2 separate regions of the Homo sapiens genome follow, and region 2 is linked to region 1. Evidence: promoter capture Hi-C in 16 types of primary human blood cells and fetal thymus (Javierre and others, 2016). All regions are on one chromosome and are shown on one strand. Each heading gives the region's core, a stretch centred on a gene start or on the middle of the fragment in contact. The rest is flanking DNA. Distances are from core to core; before and after follow the strand shown. Region 1 holds the start of MX2 (MX dynamin like GTPase 2). Region 2 overlaps MX2 (MX dynamin like GTPase 2).

Evidence for each region. The method cuts DNA at HindIII sites, captures the fragments that hold promoters and counts their contacts. A CHiCAGO score of 5 or more calls a contact.
Region 2: a contact is called between a fragment that was not itself captured here and the fragment with the promoter of MX2 in region 1, in 4 of 17 cell types (neutrophils, naive CD8 T cells, activated CD4 T cells and 1 more). The highest score is 7.0, in neutrophils.

What each region holds. Positions count from the first base shown.
Region 1 is chr21:41,360,545-41,364,620 of GRCh38, forward strand. It overlaps MX2 (MX dynamin like GTPase 2), which reads left to right and starts at 1,483. Exons shown (of 14, transcript NM_002463.2): 1 at 1,483-1,511. RefSeq lists enhancers at 908-1,167, 1,188-2,027 and a silencer at 4,017-4,066. The HindIII fragment of the contact is 29,601 bases long and covers 1-4,076 here.
Region 2 is chr21:41,404,659-41,409,197 of GRCh38, forward strand. It overlaps MX2 (MX dynamin like GTPase 2), which reads left to right. Exons shown (of 14, transcript NM_002463.2): 13 at 2,086-2,340; 14 at 3,333-4,539. The coding sequence ends at 3,575. Among named protein-coding and RNA genes, the nearest start is that of MX1, 19 kb to the right of the region's middle. The HindIII fragment of the contact is 4,554 bases long and covers 660-4,539 here.

The DNA of each region.
Region 1 (4,076 bases), core at 233-2,732:
GCAGGCACCTCTGGTCCTTCCCAGGGCTGCTGGTGAGGGGCGTGCAGGAGGGGGATGCTGCCTTGACAGAGGGTGGAGGGTCCCCTGAGCTGGCCCGAGCTGCTCGTGTCCCTCTGTCCGGCTTCTCTGAGGCCTTTCTTTGTGCCTTCCTTGAAGCAGTAGGCCGGCCCAGGCCCTGTTGTGAAAGACATTCCTAGTGAAACCGAATGTCACATCACGCTGCCAAGTCTGAGATTCACATTCCTCCCCTCACTCCTCAGCCTCTGTCCGCCCGGGCTCTTGGGAAGAGAAGTGGTTCAGGGATAGGTGATCCTGACGATGATCTCCTGGTGTTAATATTTCTAATGCCAAGGTTTTGAAAAACATGTTAAGTTTCTAAATATCTTCCGTAAAGTTAAGCCTGCACTCAAGGGAAGTCACTACAATGACTTAGCCAAGAGGAGCTCAGGAGTTTTTTTAAACGTATAGTGTTGATGTCTGGGAGAGGATCACGGGTGGATAGGAGAGCTGAGAGCCTGCTTCCTCCCTCCCAGCCATCACTGCCAGTCCTTGAGAGGCTTGGTCCCCTCCCCGGTGTCTGGAGGGCTCCTCCTGGAGGTTCCCAGACCTCTTGGCTCTGGTGATGGGAATGCCTGGCCCTCCTTGACTTTGGTCACAGAGCAGGAAGCCTTAGGGAGCATGCGGTTGTGCACCTTCACTTTTGCAGGTGAAAAGTAACTGAGGACCAGAAAGATGACATGCAGCTGGCTCAGGGCTGAGTTCCGGAGCCTGGGGTTTGTCCTGGGGCCTCCTTATCTCCAATGGGAAGAAAACCGTCTTGGTTTTGCGGCGGGGACCTCAGGCACGGGTGCTTGGAGAAAGCTGTTGACCCTCCTTCTTTGGGTTTTCCGCACCTAATGAGGGGAGAGGTGACATTTGTCAGGTGCGGCTCAGGCATGAAGCTAAGCAGGACAGCTCAGAGCGTCCAGATCATGTACCTGAGAGCATGTCCTCGGCTGTAACAGGAGTGCATCTGTGAGGCCCGATACACGAACCACACGTGGCTATTCATTCAAATTACATGGAGTTCGAAGTCCAGTTCCTTGGTCGCAGTAGTCACATTTCAGAGCCACACAGGTGGTACTGGATGGCACTGTCAGGGCAGAACCTTCCAGTGACTGAGCCACTCTGAGCTGCCCCCATGCCAGCCTCCCCTGGAATCTGTTAGCAATGCTGATTCTCAGGCCCAGCCCAGACCTGACAGATCAGACTCTCTGGCGGGGGTGGGGGGACAGCCGCCCCGTCTCCACAGCTCTCCCAGGATTCGGATGCAGCTGGAGTTTGGGGACCACTCTGTGAGTCATCTGGAGAGCACGCTGATAACTCAGTTTCATTTCTGTGGCCAGATCAAGTAGTTTCATTTCTCTCCCTGTTTGTTGATGACGGAGCAGGGGAGGGAGTGGTTCATATGCCACATAAAAGTGAAGTGGAGGAAAGGGAAGAGATGATTTCTCCATCCTGAACGTGCAGCGGTAAGAGCGGGGCCGGTGCAGGGAGGGCTGCTTTGTGTCTGATGCACAGCAGATGCGTGTTTAAAAAATATTTCCTGAGTAACGTGACATCTGCTTGGTGAATGTGGCTTGTGCTGGGAGGCAGGAGCCACAAAGATAAGATTCTGGTGTGAGGAGCAGAAAGGGCCCATGTTGCCACCAGCCCACAGTAGCCTTGTGCACAGACAAAGAGGCTCTGGAGGGGAAGTGGCTGGCCCTGGGGACAGGGTGGCCTCCATCCTGATCTGGCCAAAAGTCGGGTGGACGCAAAGGGGTGGTTTTTAGGACAGCTTTGCTCAGCGTCCTACAAAGTCTGGGGGTTGAGTAAGGAGCTTTGTGCCCGAAAAGTCGTCTCGGAGGGTTTCAAGTGTTCCTTCTTTTGTGGTATTTGTGATGCTCTGACGTAACCTTAGTGACGGTGATATGCTGGGAAATTGGCTCTCATGGGGCGGGGCAGGGCAGAGGGTGGTGCCTGATTTCTAGCCTTTGCCGATTCTCTTCCGTTCTCATGGTGTGAATGCTCCCACCGTGGCCAGTTCCCAGCCAGTAGGGGCCAACTCCAGCACTCTGGACCACTGCACCCTGGATCGCCTGCACTCTGGGGGCTGAAGTCCATTTTATAATTGATATAGAGCGGAAAGGAGACATGGTGGTATTGATGACGCAGTTTTTTTTTCTTTTTTTTTTTTTTTTTTTTTTTTTTGAGAGAAGTTCTCGTTCTGTTCCCCAGGCTGGAGTGCAGTGGCGTGATCATGGCTCACTGCAGTCTCAAGCTCCCGGGCTCAAGGGATCCTCCCACCTCAGCCTCCCAAGTAGCTGGGACTACAGGTGTGCACCACCACACCTGGTTAATTTTATTTCTTTTTGTAGAGACAGGGGCTCTCTATGTTGCCCAGGCTGGTCTCAAACTCACTGGCTCAAGAAGTCCTTACGCCTCAACCTCCCAAAGCACTGGGATTACAGGCGTAAGCCACCCCATTCGGCTTTGATGACACCTTTTGAACACTGTTCTTTCTCATTTTGTGTTTAGAATGTTGTCTCTAGCTGTTTAAAAAGATCAGGATTCCAAGCTATCTTTCCTCGCACCCTCTCCTCCGTTTACTCTGCTCTACTTCCCAGCCCCGCGCCAACCCCTGAAGCACTTTTGACTCCCTTCGGATGTACAATTTTTTTTTCTTTTTCTTTTTTGAGACAGGGTCTTCCTGCTCTGTTTCCCAGGCTGGAGTGCAATGGTACCATCATAGCTCACTGCAGCCTTAAACTTCCGGGCTCAAGTGATCCTCCTGCCTCGGCCTCCCAATGCATTGGGATTACAGGTGTGAGTCCCTGCGTCTGGCCAGGATGTATGTGAGCTTTATTTAGGTTTAGCCCCTGCCCTAGAATGCAAGCTCCCCCAGAGATCTTTGTCTGCCTGACTCGATATGTATCTCAAGGACTTAGTGCTCAATATATATCTTTGAGTGGGTGAAAAACAAGCGGTCTTAAAAAGAAAGGAGGTGAGCCCGGGGAGATAAGGTCGCATTCAGTGCCAGTGCTTGGTCAGCCATGACCCTGCACCATGCGAGTGACATTGGGACTGGAGCAAAGGGACACAGCAGAGTGGCCCCTGGTGCCCAGGACCCGGCAGAGCTCTCGGACTGGTTGCAAGCCAGCAATAGTGGCTATGCCCGTGTGGGAGACGCAGCTTGCCTTAGACTTCAGCGGGAACCACCATGTCCGGCACAGCCATTTCCATCCTTCCCAGGGGTGCTTACGTGATCCTGGCAGTCTCAGTCAAACTTCCAAACTCAGCAGGGAATGTGTGTGCTTGTCCTCCAATCTCAACACCCTGGGATGCAGTGTCAGGTGCAGGTCAGAGACAGCAGTGGAGACCCGATTCCCAGCCCTGGGCTGGGGCCCCCACAAGGCCTCCAGCATCTCCCCATGGCCCAGTTTCCTCATCTGCAGGACAGGCTCTCTTGAGAATTTGGGGGGATGATAGACCCAAAAGCATTCTGGAGCCAGAGGCTTCTGCCTTCGTCGGGGGCATCAGGGAGTGTCAGTCATGAATTCACCATGACTTCTGACCACCTCTGCCTGGACTCCCTCACCTCAGTGCTGCCTAAGCTGGGTAACCACCAGCTTCCTGGGCCTTCACCCCGCAGGGCCTTCCTCTCCAGTGATGCGCCTGGAAAGAGGGATTTCTCTTTGCAAAGGTCTCTGGAATTGCCAAGTTATGGCTTTAAGCATATGTAGGGAAACTCCCTCCCCTTTGCACTTTTGGAGTTTTTTTCCAGCCCTCAATAGAAATCAATACAGTGACCAGGCTGCCCTTTTCACCACACTCTCAGGCTCCTGAGGACCCTGGTGGAAGATGGACTAAGCACATCCTGGGCATCGGGGACAGGCACCGGCTCCTCAAGCGTGGACAGGGACAGGGATGGGGCGGGGCAGCGCTGCAGGAGGTGGGGCCTGGGCTGATTTTCTTGCTGTACTACTTTCAGTCACTACGTACCTGTTATGGGTTGAACTAGGCTCCCTGTATTAGTCAGAGTTCTCTAGAGGGAC
Region 2 (4,539 bases), core at 1,687-4,186, 46 kb after region 1:
TCTATGTGTTAAATGTGAAAAGAAAGGCGTGGAGAGAAAGTCAATCATGCATTCATCTCGCGCTCAGTAAATCTACATTTTACATCGGATAAAGTGCACATGTGAAATCACAGCTTCTGTTTGGGAACAAAAGAAAGGCAGTTAACTTTCCCTTTAGTATAGTAAGTTTGGGGTCCCAAGAATCTATTTTTCTTTCACAGTTGTCACATATACTCAAAAAAAAAAAAAAAAAAGAAAAAGAAAAAAAAAAGAGAAAGAACAAACAAACCAGCACCTGTGAAACTTCACCTCTGAAACTCACTCTCTCACTCTCAAGCCACTGCTTCTGCCTTCAGTTTTAAAAAGTCTATTTGAAGCTCAAAAGCCTAGGCCAGGTGTGGTGGCTCACGCCTGTAATCCTAGCACTTTGGGAGGCCGAGGCGGGCAGATCCCTTAAGGTCAGGAGTTCGAGACCAGCCTGGCCAACCCGGTGAAACCCTTGTCTCTACTAAAAATACAAAAATTAGCCAGAAATCACTTGAACCTGGGAGGCGGAGGTTGCAGTCAGTCGAGATTGTGCCACTGCACTGCAGCCTGGGTAACAAAGAGAGACTCCATCTCAAAAAGAAAAAAAAAAAAGAAAAAGAAACTCAAAGCCAGGACATGACAGTCTTAGTTCAAGCTTCTATCACAAAGTCCCACAGACTGGATGTGTCTTATTAACAATAAAAATTTGTTTCTCATGGTTCTGGAGGCTGGGAGCCTGAGATCAGTGTGTCGGCATGGTCAGGTGGCAGTGAGGGCTCTCTTTCAGGTTGCGGATGGCCACCACCTTCTTGTGTATCCTCACACGGTGGAAAGAGCGCTCTCTGGGGTTGCTTTATAAGGGCCTCAGTCACATTCATGAGGCTCTACCCTCATGACTAATTGCCTCCCACTTCCCAATACCATTACCTTCCTACTTTGGTTTCAACATGTAAATTGGGGGGCAGGGGACACAAATGTTCAGTCCATGGCAGTGACCCTGTGACCCCCCTTCTCTGCTACATCACCTCTTTCTTTCCTTTTTTTTTTTTTTTTTTTTTGAGATGGAGTCTCACTCTGTCACCCAGGCTGAAGTGCAATGGCGCCATCTCGGCTCACTGCAACATCTGCCTCCTAGGTTCAAGTGATTCTCCTGCCTCAGCCTCCCAAGTAGCTGGGATTACAAGCACCTGCCACCACACCTGGCTAATTTGTGTATTTTTAGTGAGATGGGGGTTCGTCATGTTGGCCAAGCTGGTCTCAAACTCCTGACCTCAGGTGACCCACCTGCCTCAGCCTCCCAAAGTGCTGGGATTACAGGAATGAGCCATCGCACCCGGCCTTTTTGAGACGGAGTTTCGCTCTTGTCGTCCAGACTGGAGTGCAATGGCATGATAGCTCACTGCAACCTCTGCCTCCCAGGTTCAAGCCATTCTCCTGCCTCAGCCTCCCAAGTAGCTGGGATTGCAGGCGTGTGCCACCACGCCCAGCTAATTTTGTATTTTTAGTAGAGATGAGGTTTCACGATGTTGGCCAGGTTGGTCTCGAGCTCCTGACCTCAAGTGATCCACCCTCCTTGGCCTCCCAAAGTGCTGGGATTATAGGCATGAGCCACCATGCCCAGCCAACCTCTTTCTTCCTTGACTGCATGGGTGATGTAGGAGTCCTGGGATTCCTGGGAAACAGGTATATCACACTATTATCCCAGTGTTCGTCAGCACTGGAACCATTCTAGCAGAAGTAGCACCCCAGGAATGACTGACACCGTCCCAACAGCATGGACTAAGCCTGTTCCTGTTGAAGGAGCAGAAAGCTGGTGGTGTAGGAGGGACTGGGGATGGCCAGAGAGGAAGAAAGGGCAGGAGAGAAGGTATGTCGCAAGTGGGGAGTGAGGAAACCGGGTTCATAAGGACAGAAAGGGCGAAGTGGGACTTTCTAAAAATCATCATTTCAAGTCTCAGGACTTCTTTGACTATGGATTCGTTTTATTTCTGAGTTCAACATAATAGTACTTCCAAATTTGTTTAAGCCAACAGGAAAGAAGAAAAAGAAGTAATGTGTTTGTCTTTTTTATCTAACCAGAGCACGATTGAAGACATAAAAGTGAAACACACAGCAAAGGCAGAAAACATGATCCAACTTCAGTTCAGAATGGAGCAGATGGTTTTTTGTCAAGATCAGATTTACAGTGTTGTTCTGAAGAAAGTCCGAGAAGAGATTTTTAACCCTCTGGGGACGCCTTCACAGAATATGAAGTTGAACTCTCATTTTCCCAGTAATGAGTCTTCGGTTTCCTCCTTTACTGAAATAGGCATCCACCTGAATGCCTACTTCTTGGTGAGTTCCCGGCGGGGCAGGAGCCGTGCTCTCTGAAATTTGCAGAGCTGAGTAGGGGCTATGCTAACCTAGAGAGGCTTTGCTGAGGGAAGGAGGGAGGGACCACTACAATGTATTAAGCCCTTCTGTATTATGATAAACTACTTATATATTTTCTCATTTATAATTTTACATGAACCCTATGAAGGCACTTTTAATTAATTTGCCCACAATCAATTTTTAAAGTGGTAGAGCGTGTACTCAAAATTAATTCTGACCCCAAAATTCCTTATATTTCTTATGCGGTCCATGAATTACAAAATTACTATGATCAGAATACAGCAAAATACAACAAACGTCAACGATTGTGACTATAAACTAGCTTTCCTTGGTGTTCAGAAGGCACTAACATGCCACACTTGCCAGCCCCACAAGATAGGAATGAAATTTCCTTTCCCTAGATTTTGTGACCCAGTGAACTTTTTGGCCTCTGACTGTCTATCCAATATGCAAGTATCACTGTTCCCAGGAAGAAAAAATAGCTTTTAAACTGCAAAGACACCCACCTCCCGAAGCCCTTTCTCAATCAGAATAGAGTGGTTTCCCAGCCATGGGCACCTGGCTGCCAGGCATACTGGCTATGCCTATGAAGAAGGAATGAGGGGAGGATTCGAAACGGCCCTGGTGCATACCCAGAAGGGAGCCAGGGGAGTCCTGGGCTGGGGGAGTTTCTCCAGCAGGGAGGAGCTGTGGGGATGCCCAGAGGTGATATGGGCTTGCTAGCCTACCAGGGGGCTTCTTAGTGCTAGAGGGGATGCCTGGAAGTAAAGAGGGGTCAGCGCAAATAGAACCTTCACGGGGCTTGATGCTGACCACCGGAGTGGAGGTGGGCGAGACCACCAGGGCTTCGCCAGGCAACCATGTGCGCATCCAGGAACTCCATGCCTTCTCTCTGCAACCACAGGCCTTGGGCTGAGACCACTCCAGCAAACCCTTCTTTCTCCCTCTTCCAGGAAACCAGCAAACGTCTCGCCAACCAGATCCCATTTATAATTCAGTATTTTATGCTCCGAGAGAATGGTGACTCCTTGCAGAAAGCCATGATGCAGATACTACAGGAAAAAAATCGCTATTCCTGGCTGCTTCAAGAGCAGAGTGAGACCGCTACCAAGAGAAGAATCCTTAAGGAGAGAATTTACCGGCTCACTCAGGCGCGACACGCACTCTGTCAATTCTCCAGCAAAGAGATCCACTGAAGGGCGGCGATGCCTGTGGTTGTTTTCTTGTGCGTACTCATTCATTCTAAGGGGAGTCGGTGCAGGATGCCGCTTCTGCTTTGGGGCCAAACTCTTCTGTCACTATCAGTGTCCATCTCTACTGTACTCCCTCAGCATCAGAGCATGCATCAGGGGTCCACACAGGCTCAGCTCTCTCCACCACCCAGCTCTTCCCTGACCTTCACGAAGGGATGGCTCTCCAGTCCTTGGGTCCCGTAGCACACAGTTACAGTGTCCTAAGATACTGCTATCATTCTTCGCTAATTTGTATTTGTATTCCCTTCCCCCTACAAGATTATGAGACCCCAGAGGGGGAAGGTCTGGGTCAAATTCTTCTTTTGTATGTCCAGTCTCCTGCACAGCACCTGCAGCATTGTAACTGCTTAATAAATGACATCTCACTGAACGAATGAGTGCTGTGTAAGTGATGGAGATACCTGAGGCTATTGCTCAAGCCCAGGCCTTGGACATTTAGTGACTGTTAGCCGGTCCCTTTCAGATCCAGTGGCCATGCCCCCTGCTTCCCATGGTTCACTGTCATTGTGTTTCCCAGCCTCTCCACTCCCCCGCCAGAAAGGAGCCTGAGTGATTCTCTTTTCTTCTTGTTTCCCTGATTATGATGAGCTTCCATTGTTCTGTTAAGTCTTGAAGAGGAATTTAATAAAGCAAAGAAACTTTTTAAAAACGTAGCCAGGTTCAGTGACTCATACCTGTAATCCCAGTGACTCTGGAGACTGAAGCAGAAGGATCACTTGAGCCCAGGAGTTCAAGACCAGACTGGGCAACACAGGGAGACCCTGTCTCTAAAAAAATTTGTTTGTAAGTAGCCAGACATGGTGGTGCACACCTGTAGTCCCAGCCACTCAGGTGGCTGGAGCAGGAGGATCCCTTGAGCCCAGGATTTTGAGGCTGCAGTGAGCCATGACTGCACCATGTACTACAG